Regions from separate parts of the Homo sapiens genome. Here region 1 is linked to region 2. Evidence: promoter capture Hi-C in human tissues and cell types (Jung and others, 2019). All regions are on one chromosome and are shown on one strand. The core of a region is centred on a gene start or on the middle of the fragment in contact, and the rest is flanking DNA. Distances in the headings are between cores, read along the strand shown.

Region 1 (5,831 bases), core at 1,855-4,354, 420 kb before region 2:
TCTAAATGGTCAGTTTCCTTGCTCTCTGCAGAGACAGGTACTGTATCTGTTCTTAATTTGAAGAGTAGCCAGCTGGCTCCCCACTGAAATGTGATATTGTTATAAACAAACTAGCATCATAAAGCAATTGAGCAAGGAAGGCCCTCTGGAAGGAGGGGACTGCCTTTGAGTTATTCAGACAGATAAAGAGGGGCCAGGATTGCCCTGCGAAGCAAAGCAGGATGTGAAAAGCAGCTACGGCGGGGCTGTCAGGCAGCAATAGCAGCATCCAGCTGGTCTCCTTGCACACAGCAGCAGGTGTATTTATTATATCAAGAATCCAACTCCTCAGTGCACATTATAGGAGCCACCTCTTTCCATTAAATAACAACATAATCAATTGCATGAATCATGGCTGAAAGAAACGTTACCTTGCAAAGGTGGATGGTCTGGCAGAAATCTTGCCACCATTCTAAGGGGATTTAGAAAAACCTGTGAAGTTAGAGTAAGAGGAAGTTGAAATTCTATCAAGAACCTTCTATTTTTCACCCCAGCCTGAAGGCGGGGATGATAACCACAGACGTATAGTTGGCCTCTTAGGGCTGACGAAACAAGTGTGATGTTTGACAGTAATAGCAGTTACATAATTCACTTCCTACTTAAGTTTTTAATAGTACTTGGGCACACACACATGAGTAATGGAGGAAAGAAAAAATTGGGTGAGCCTAATTTCTCATAGCAATCTCCACACAGCTGGATGTTTCTCAAATATTTTAAAGTGTTTTGATCAGTTAAAAAGATTTAAAGCATTATTTTCTCAGAAATTCTGACAAAATGTTTCTACGAAATTAACTAGTTGTTCTAAATTACATATTATTTCATTAATTGCCAATACAGGTTATATTTTTAAAGCAAAATCACATTAACAATCCTTTCATGTAAGAATCTTCCATTTCCAAAATTCTTTGGTAATGTAACTTGCAAAATAATCTGTATCCTCTCAGCTTTCAAACTTCTGTCTATTGGGCTGTTCATCCAAATAAGTGTAAATTAATTAGATCCATAATTCCACATTAATTTTGCAATTACAATGAAAAATATTACAATACCACCTTTTGTGTAGTAATTTAAGCTTCAGGTGTGAGTTTATTGTTCCTCAAAATGGGCCAGGAGAGGAAAATAAAGGAGCTAGGACCAGGCACACAATTTTCCTGCCTTGGAGGGCACAGGTGCTGGAGAAAGTGGCCCAGGAGCAGAGGGTGACTGTTGAGGGCCACAGGTGAGCAGATGAGACGGGCATCCAAGGGAGTAGCCAGCAGCATGTTGATTCCGGCCAGAGAGTACCAGGGAGATTCAGCTGGATGGAGCAGCGTCCACAGGGTGGTCTCTACAGTTGGAATCCACACAGGTCCCAGTACCTGGGCCTGGGAACCAGGACTCTGAGCTGTCGAGAGGTGAACTTGACGACGGCACGAAGAGCATGGGCCACGCCCGAGTCCGTGAGGTCAGGACCCTGTGGAGGAGGCTGGGAAGGGTGGCAGGGGTTTCCCCAGGAACCAGTGCGGAAGGCAAGTGTGGACATCCCCAGGACAGGACCCTCAGTGGTCAGGGGGCTGAGTCTCGTTCCTACCACAGCCCTCCTCAGCGTGTGCAATGCCTAGGAGGGGGTGGCCATGTCTTTGTGGGTGCTCAGCAGGTGCCTGGTGCGCAGATGACAGAACGTGGAGTGGAGCAGAGTCAGAAAGGGGCCTGAGGGAGGTGCGCGTGGCCTTGGCACATGGAGTCACGCACCAGGGCAGGAGACCGCATCAGCACCCTTAGAGCCGCGGGCAGCCAGCACTCCTGGAGTGCCACTGGGTCCACAATGATATCCTGGGCGTCCACTTAGTGCTAAGCCCCACGGAACCCAGGATCAGGCTAACAGGTACTGAGTCTTCCAGGGTACTTTTTCCCAATCACAAAATGGTTCAGGGTCTGAATCAAGTAGAACCCGATGGCAGGAGGTGCAGAAGTGCACCTGAGAACGTGGGTGGAGGCTCATCTGTTGCGTCTAATATGATCTGTGTAACATAAATGAAAAGCATAGTCAATTTTTCAAATCGACAATCCAATATTTAGGGACTTGCAGGGTGAATGAATTTAAATCCACATTCAAAATAAGATAATTAGTCTCTCTTACTTGATGAATGATACTATCGTCAAGTGATATCTTTCTGTCACGAGTTTCGGACCAATAGCCCAAAATGAAAATTATCCAATAAAACGTGAAAATTCAGCATTCTGCTACACAAAGTTATTTGAGATGGGACCATAAATCTTTTGCTAAAAGATGCCAAGCCCGAGGCTCAACTTTGCTGCAGAGAACGCGCTCATTCAGTGTTCACCATGTCTTCTCAGCCAGCACTGCTCCGCCCGCAAACAGCATCAGAGTCAAAAATGTGGAGACCAGCCCAGAAGGTCAGGCACATTCCAGGTATCAACCTACTTCCAGTGGCTGATGAGCCCTGGCCCTTAAACCGCCAACCCTCCAAATCCCAGGGTTTCCATCCTGCACCCCCAAGCCTCACCTGGCAGAACACCACAGGACCCCCTGTGTACCAGGATGGACAGCCTGGCTTCTAGCCCTCCTGCCGGCATCCTCAGGGGCTCAGACCAAGGCCACGTGACCACTCTTGTAAGCACCTGGGCTGAGCAGATCTTCCCACGGGCCTCATCACAACCCGTGGTGGGAACACAGGCCCAGACCTCAGCACCTCAGGGGTAGGCGGCGAGACCACACGTCCACACCAGGCCCAGACCTCAGCGCCTCGGGGGCGGGCGGCGAGACCACACGTCCACACCAGGCCCAGACCTCAGCGCCTCGGGGGCAGGCGGCGAGACCACACATCCACACCACACCCAACACTCAGCCTGCCAGGCTGGCCTGGGCGCCATGTGGCTGATGGGCACCCACAGTGAGCACGGTGATATGCTCCTCTCTTGCCTGGAAGGCTTTAGACGCTGCTCCTCCTCAGCGTCACACCAAGCCTGCTCAGAGGTGCTGAGAAATCCGGGGAGTCCCTGCAGGGAGGACACGCTTCTGACCCCTTGCTGGTCAGAAATGAAAATTAACCAATGAAATGTGAAAATTCGGCATTTTGTCATACGTGTGTTTACATATGTATATAAACACATGTGAAGATGAAGGGAAAGCAGGGTTGCTATGATAGCAAACAGATGAATAAAAATAAAACACACCATGTTCTCCATATTTTCATATTTTTCAATTATGAGACTTTACATTCACTTCTGAAACTTTTTAAGACAAAATTTAAAATGGAAAATATCAATCCACTGTGAGTTAATTGCATGCGTTTTTGGCTTCTCCGGCACGTCAGCGGCATAATGTTCACCTCGCAGGAGGAGCTCGGCCTCAGAAGCTTCCTTCCTCTGGCTTCTCTCCTGGGGCGCGTGGGCTGGATCCCCCGTAAGGAGGCACTAAGGTCAGCAGGGCCCTGCGGCCAGGAGGTCTAGGTCCACGGTGAGATCAAGGCTGCGCTGTGTCCTTCTGAGGGGTACGTGTCCAGCGTCCCTGTCCATCTGAGCAAAGGGCGCTTGTGCCGTTGGTGGAATCCGTGACTGAAGGCCAAAGCACCTGCACCTGTGAAAACATCAGAACATGGACTTTTCCACGGCACTGACCATGGCACGAAACTAACTGTGTAGGGAGACAGTTAGAAACGACAAAGATGGTGCAGTGTGTGCTCAAGGTGGGGTTCAGCAAAGCATCTCAGCTTGCAGAGCAGCACCAGCTCAGAGCAGGGGCTCTGTGTGCCTTGTGGATATGAATGGATGGATGGACGGACGGATGGATAGATGGACAGACGAATGGAGAAGAGCTCCGCAGTTGAGGAAATGCGTGAGATGAGATGCAGCGTGGCCATGGGTTTCCCCACATTTTACTTCTACTCTGGGCTCTCCTGGACATCTTCCTTCACATAGAGGGTGTAAACTCGTTAACGCCGTCTCTGCTCCCTGTGTTTAGGACCTGGATGGTCTTTGCATGGCAACAAACCCTTTCCCTCTAAGCCAGGCCCACCCCAACAGCCCCCATCATCCAGCAGGACCCCCATCAGCCACCAGCCGCAGACGCCAGCCCCTCCTGTTCCCACATCCCCTGTTTGCCCTCCTGGCCTTGGGAGTTGGATCCAGCCCCAAATCCTTCATGGGACCCTTCAGGCCCTGCCACGGACAATTATAAAGGCCTCACCCGGCTGGCGTCTAGGAGCAGCCTCGGGAGAGCTGCGCTTTGGACTCCGGCCCCTGCTGGCCACACTCTTTCCACATCTGCATGCCTGCCCCCACACCTCCACTGGGGACCCCTTCTTAGGGGCTCAGTTGAGGGGCTTTTCTCCGTCCAAGCCAGTGCCTTTCCACTTCCTTCCCCAGCTCCAGGTCCGTGAGGGGCAGGAACCCATTGCTCAGGCTTCTTGGCAGTGAAAGGACTTCGTCTGTGCCATGTGCCCAGACCCTCAGCCAGTGTGGGTCTGTGGAGAAGAAGAGACATCAGGGCTGCTGCCCTTCTTGTTCACCACATGCCTACACCATCACAGAGAGGCCGGATGTTGACTTCCGTGACTCATAACCAAAACTACACACTCACCACCCAGTGCTCCACAGGCCCCTGGCCTGAACTGCAGATCCCAATTTCAGTGGCCACCATGCCTGTCTCAGTTTCAGCAACTCTGCAAGCAAGGACCCCATTTCTGAGCCCTGGGTCCTGCACAGGCCACATCCCAGGGTGAGATGTGCACCCTCCATGCCTGGGCAGAGGCTCCTGGTCCAGCCCTGCCCTGCTCCATCTGTGGTCCCCGCAGGAGCAGGAGGCGGAGGGAAGGACAAAGAGGCCTGGACCCCTGCACTGATTACTCTGAACTCGTACTTATGGGACCTGACCCACAGCAGCTTGCTTTCTCTTTCTTTCTTTCTTTTCTTTCTTTCTTTCTTTCTTTCTTTCTTTCTTTCTTTCTTTCTTTCTTTCTTCTTTCTTTCTTCTTTCTTTCTTTCTTTCTTTTTTGTACTGGAGAAGGAAACTTTTTGTTTGCTTAATCTTTCGTTTGTTTGTTTGCCTGTTTTAGGAACCCTGAATTAACAGAATGAAGAATAAGATAATGGAGGAGTTGGCATCGAGTCTCCCCCTGCCCAGCACATAAGCCAGGCTTGAGCCCCACAGGTAGAGGCAGAGAAGCCAGAAGCCTGGGGAACTGTGACTCTGAGAAACCAGTGCACTTGGCACTAGGAATACATCACGATCAAAATGAAAGGTAAAAATTAACAAATATAGAAGATTCACGCTCTAACAGGACTGAGCCCTTCCATGATCTCACTTAATCCTCACAACCCTGGAGGTCATTGCTCTCTTCAACCCTGTGGAGATGAGACAAGACACAGAGAGAGGTGCGCTAAGTTCCCCAAAGCCACGTAACTTGCTGCAGCACAGTCAAGATTTGAGTCCAGGCTCTTAAACTTCACATCAGGAGCTCTCAGCCATCACTTTAAGCCACCTTATTTGCATCTAAGAAGCAAGGATCTTGAGTCTTCTGATTCGGAATTGGGCGTGATCTTTACTGTGCTGCTTGGGGGGTCCAGTGTATGGTGCTCATTTGAGGATCAGGACTTTCTGTCTTCCAGGATTTCATCACCTGCCCATCTAATTACTCACAGACTGGTGGCTTGGAAGACAGTGGAAGAAGTATGCATGGCAGGGCAAGGTCAGGGCAGCCGCCAATGCCAACAAAGAGGAGAAGGAGGAAGAGCCAGAAATGTGGCCTCCTGACCATCTCAGCCATGAGAAACATAGCCCTGAAGACCAA
Region 2 (5,663 bases), core at 353-2,852:
GGGTGAGGAGATGGTGTTACAGTGCCAGTGCTGTGAGAATGAGATGGTGTTATCAATATCAGTTGTTGAATGTGGGTGAGAGATGGTGTGAACAGTGTCAGCGGCTGAGAGTGAGGTAGAGAAATAATGGGTGAGGCCATTGTCAATTAGGAGGCCATTGGCGTCTTTTGAAAGTAGTTAGTGTCTGTGGAGTGGCATGTATTCAGGTTACATGAAAAGCAGCTGAGAAGCAAACTGGCAATCAGAGTGGCAGCAACAAATTAAGAATATTCATATTCATAAAGACCATTTTTTATAATGAAAAAGTAATACATGCAGATGGGGGAAGATCACCTGAACCTTGAGAGGTGGAAGATGTAGTGAGCCGTGATCAAAACATTACACTCCAGCCTGGGTAACAGAGACCCCATCTCCAAAAAACAGAAAAGAAAAGCATTTATAAGTTCATGTTGAACAGTGTTTCAAACACATAGACAAAATTTATATGTCATGAAAATGGAATATCAGAAAAACATTGTTTAAAAAAACACAAAGTGAGTAAACCATTAATACGTGAGGTGAGCGGTGCATCAGCTTGCCGGCTTCCAGCTGCAGCGGGTGATGGAGGTGGAAGGGAGCTGTCCTCGGGACAGGAAATGAAACAAACCCAACCAAAGCCGTGTATTCGTTTATTCAATATCGTTTTGCTTTCTTGTGTAGACTGAGGGTGTAAACCTCGTTTCTGACAGTCGCCTATAGGACTTTTCAGCAGGCTGTGGGCCTAGAGGTGGGGGATGTGGAATCAAGCTAAAGACCCAGAACCAGAGAAAGAAGGAAGCAGCAGTGAGGAAGCAGGACAAGAACATCTCGGAAATTCAGCCCGGCGCGGTGGGCGCGCCTGCAGTCGCGGCGCTTTGGGGGCCCGGGCCACGTAGCACGACCCTGCCTGTGAACGCACAGACACCAGCGGTTCCAAGGGCGCGGGCAGGAAGCGGGCACCGAAGGCAGGCTGGAGAAGCGCGGGGCGGAAGCAAGAAGCCGCGCGGCGAGGAGGGCGCGTGGGGCCCCACACAGCCATGGGGCGCGCGTACTACTGGCAGCGCAGGCTCTGGACCGCTAAGGAGGCCGCGCGCGCCCACGCGTGTCCCCGGCAGAGCTTCCAGGAGACGGCTGCGAGGCCCTTCCACCCGCGGACCAGAGCGCGCCGGGTCGAACCACGACCCACGTGCAGGCCCTCGCGCGCTACCGGAAGGCCAGCCTGTGGCGCACGCGCGCCCCGCCCCGCCGATCGGTGACGTCATCGGGCCCGTCACGAGGCGGGGGCGGGGCCTCGGAACGCGACGCCCCCCGTCCCAGCTTTAGCCACTCGTGACGTCATTGCCCGGACTCCACTGCCTCCTGCGCCGCGCTTTTGCCACCCTGGGCACGTCATCGTGCGCCGACGCCAAACGAGGGCGGGGCCTAGGGACGCCACACCTTCCGCGCCGCCGCTCGTTACGTCATCGGACCTCGCCGCTTGGCGGAGGCGGGGAAGGCCCGCAGGCGGCGCCTCAGCCGGGGTTGGCGCTGAGGGGAGAGGGCGGGGAAAAGGTGGCGAATTGAGGGGAAAGTGGGAGGGGCGGGAAAGGGGCGGTCGGAACATGGCGGACCAGATCCCGCTTTACCCGGTGCGTAGCGCAGCGGCGGCCGCAGCCAACCGCAAACGCGCGGCCTACTACAGCGCCGCGGGGCCCAGGCCGGGAGCCGACCGGCACAGCAGGTAACCGAGGCGGCACTGGCCCCGTTCCCCGCCGACGCTCCCCGGGGCCCCCAGCCCACCGCAGGAACCCGGAGCCGGGCGGGTCTGGGGTCGCTACCGGCGCGCCCCATCTGTTCGCTGGGAGCCGGGAGTCCTTGGCGTTCTGAGCGCGCCGCAGCTGTGGCGTCCGCCGGTGGTGAGGGCCGCGGGCAGCTGCCGGGGCGAGCGGCTGCATCCCCGGGACGCCTGGGCCGAGCGTAGGAGCCAGAACGGGAGCAGAGAACCGCGGTCCAGTGTTGAGGGGTGGCTGCTCTCCTAAAGTAAACGGGGATCAAAAGTGCTAACTTCTCGGATACTTCAGAGTCTCCGAAACTTGTTCTTGTAGCCCTGTGAATTGTGAAGGTGACGGATGTAACTTTTAATTGCTTTGTTAAAAACACACTTCTTATTGAAATGACTTCTCTTCGACATTTCGATATCTTTGCTAGGCACACTTTTTGTTTAAACATATATATACAAAGTGCTTTTTGTCGACAAGTAATTTTGCTTTTACGAAAGGGAAATGGGGTATTGAGAACGGTTAACTTGTTTAGTGGGGTCACAGGTTAGCAGTAGAATTAGTGTACAGACCTTTCATACTCGAGATTGCATTTAGCTCATATTTAACATTTCTCATTCAAAGAAAAGAAAATTTTAAAAAGTGTTGCTTCTTATAGTTTTTGAAGTTTTATTCCAGAGGAATTGTCGAAAACATAATTTCACTCAATATGTAGTTGCTTCAGAATTTGAGTTTTTGAATAATTTTTGTTTTCGGCCATTTGAGAGACTAACATATAGCTCAAAGTACATACTGGAATGTTATAACGCTGATTTGAGTGTTTACCCACTAGCGATTTACTCTCGGGTAACTTATTTAAACTCAAGCCATGGTTTCCTCATCTGTAAAATGCTGGATAATATTTTTTCTTACGGGATTATTGGAGATTACAGTAGAACATGTGTAAGGTGCCCTTTTTTCAGTGCTTGGTTGGAAGTGGGTTCTGGTGTTACCTATAACAGTAATTGTGTTAGTAAATCTGTTTAATTTTAGGAGTTCTTTAGTTGGAAATGTGCCACCTGTTTCAAAATAGGTTTCCATCACAGATTGAATCCATTTTTGCCTCATGTACTTTGAAGCACTGTCATGTGGTGCACGCACATTCAAGATTTTTTGTCATCTCGGTGGATTGTTCCTTTCATTGTTAATGTTCCTCTGTCTCTGGTAATTTTCTTTGCTCTAAAATCTTTATTAGATATTGATGTCGCCATTTATGCTTTTTTTTGGATTAATGTTTGCATGGTATTAGCTTTCAACTTACCTATGTTGAATTTGAAGTGAGTTTCTTGTTGGATCTTATATTTTTTATCAACTATGCCATTCTCTTTTGATTGGCATATTTACACCATTTACATTTACGATAATTACTGATATGTTAGAATATAAGTGTGCCATTTATTATCTGTGTTCTGTTTCTTCTGATTCTCATTCTGATTCCTGTTTCTTTTTTTTTTTTTTTTTGCCACTTTTTGGGTTACTTGGACACTTTTTTGGTATCCCTATAGTGTGTTTGAGATTAGGTGTTGGTATAGTTTTTACAGTGCTTGCTCTGGGTATTACAATATACAAATGTGACTTATCACCATGGTGTATTGCTGTATTTCACCACTTCCAGTCAAGTGTGGAAACCCTTCTTTCACTTAGGTCCTCACTTTAAGTATCATGTCCTGGGTATCAGATGGTGTTACAGTTTTTGTGTCAGTCATCAAATATGGTTTATAAAACTCATGATGATAAAGATAGTGTATTGCATATACCACATACGCATATTTCCCCTTTTTCTATTGTTCTTCCTTTTTTTTTTTTTTGAGACAGGGTCTCACTCTGTTCTCCTGGCTGGAGTTAGTGATGCGATCGTAGCTCATTACAGCTTTGATCTGTTGGGCCCAGGCAATCCACCCATGTAGCTGGGACTATAGGCACATACCACCATGCCTGGCTAATTAAAAAAAATTTTTTTTGAAGAGACAGCATCTTGCTATATTGCCCAACTGGTCTCAAGTGATCCTCCTGTGTCATCCTCCCAGAGTGTTAGGATTAAGGCGTGAGCCATGGCTGCTAGCCTGCCATTCTTTTCTTAGCACTTGAAAAATCTTGTGCTGCTTCCTTCTTGTGTCCATGGTTTCTGATTAGGATGCTGCTGTCACTCAGATTGATGTTCCCCTGTAGATAATGTGTCATTTCTCTCTGGCTGCTTTCAAGTTTTTACTTTGTCTTTAGTTTTCAGAAGTTTAATTATGATGTGTCTTATCATGGATTTCTTTGGATTTCATGTTTGGTTTTGTTTTTTTTTTTTTTTTTGGTTTTCGAATAAATTTAGGGAGTTTTTAGCCATTATTTCTTCAACTACTCTTTGTTGTTGTTGAAATAATGGAGAGTTGCTCCCACTCTCTTCTCTCCATTTGGATTTCCAGTGTTAAGAAAGTTGGATCTTATGTTGGTGTTTCATAATTTCCTTAGGCTCTTTCCCTGTTTCTTTTCTCTGTGTTGTTCAGATTGTGTAAATTCTATTAATCTCTTCTCAAGTTCCCTAATTCTTTTTTTTTTTAATTTTTTTCAGTATTTATTGATCATTCTTGGGTGTTTCTCGGAGAGGGGGATTTGGCAGGGTCATAGGACAATAGTGGAGAGAAGGTCAGCAGATAAACATGTGAACAAAGGTCTCTGGTTTTCCTAGGCAGAGGACCCTGCGGCCTTCCGCAGTGTTTGTGTCCCTGGGTACTTGAGATTAGGGAGTGGTGATGACTCTTAACGAGCATGCTGCCTTCAAGCATCTGTTTAACAAAGCACATCTTGCACCGCCCTTAATCCATTTAACCTGGAGTTGACACAGCACATGTTTCAGAGAGCACGGGGTTGGGGGTAAGGTTATAGATTAACGGCATCCCAAGGCAGAAGAATTTTTCTTAGTACAGAACAAAATGGAGTCTCCTATGTCTACTTCTTTCTACACAGACACAGTAACAATCTGATCTCTCTTTCTTTTCCCGACATTTCCCCCTTTTCTGTTCGACAAAACCGCCATCGTCATCATGGCCCGTTCTCAGTGAGCTGTTGGGTACCCCTCTGAGACAAGGCGGCTGCCGGGTGGGGGCGCCCCCCCACCTCCCAGACCAGGCGGCTGCTGGGCGGGGGCGCCCCCCACCTCCCAGACGGGGCGGCTGGGCGGAGATGCTTCTCACCTCCCAGATGGGGTGGCTGCCGGGCAGAGGGGCTCCTCACCTCTCAGATGGGGCGGCCGGGCAGAGGCGCTCCTCAGTTCCCAGACAGGGTGGCGGCTGGGTAGAGATGCTCCTCACCTCCCAGACAGGGCGGCCGGGCAGAGGCGCTCGTCACATCCCAGACGATGGGCGGCCGGGCAGAGACGCTCCTCACTTCCTAGACGGGATGACGGCCAGGAAGAGGCGCTCCTCACTTCCCAGACTGGGCGGCGGGGCAGAGGAGCTCCTCCCATCCCAGATGATGGGCCGCCAGGCGGAGACGCTCCTCACTTCCTAGATGGGGTGGCGGCCGGGAAGAGGCGCTTCTCACTTCCCAGACTGGGAGGCCGGGCAGACGGGCTCCTCACATCCCAGACAATGGGTGGCCAGGCAGAGACGCTCCTCACTTCCTAGATGGGGTGGCAGCTGGGCAGAGGCTGCAATCTCAGCACTTTGGGAGGCCAAGGCAGGCGGCTGGGAAGTGGAGGTTGTAGCGAGCCGAGATCACCCCACTGCACTCCAGCCTGGGCAACATTGAGCACTGAGTGAGCGAGACTCCGTCTGCAATCCCAGCACCCCGGGAGGCCGAGGCGGGCAGACCACTCGAAGTCAGGAGCCGGAGACCAGCCTGGCCAACACGGAGAAACCC

The links. The method cuts DNA at HindIII sites, captures the fragments that hold promoters and counts their contacts. A contact is called where the count stands out against the background at its distance.
Region 1: a fragment that was not itself captured here is called in contact with the fragment with the promoter of ATP9B in region 2 in 1 of the 25 tissues and cell types used here (H1 embryonic stem cells).

What each region holds. Positions count from the first base shown.
Region 1 is chr18:78,642,624-78,648,454 of GRCh38, forward strand. No RefSeq gene overlaps it. Among named protein-coding and RNA genes, the nearest start is that of LINC01896, 330 kb to the right of the region's middle. RefSeq lists an enhancer at 4,188-5,387. The HindIII fragment of the contact is 5,202 bases long and covers 504-5,705 here.
Region 2 is chr18:79,067,792-79,073,454 of GRCh38, forward strand. ATP9B (ATPase phospholipid transporting 9B (putative)) reads left to right here and starts at 1,603. Exons shown (of 30, transcript NM_198531.5): 1 at 1,603-1,738. The coding sequence starts at 1,620. The HindIII fragment of the contact is 23,298 bases long and covers 1-5,663 here.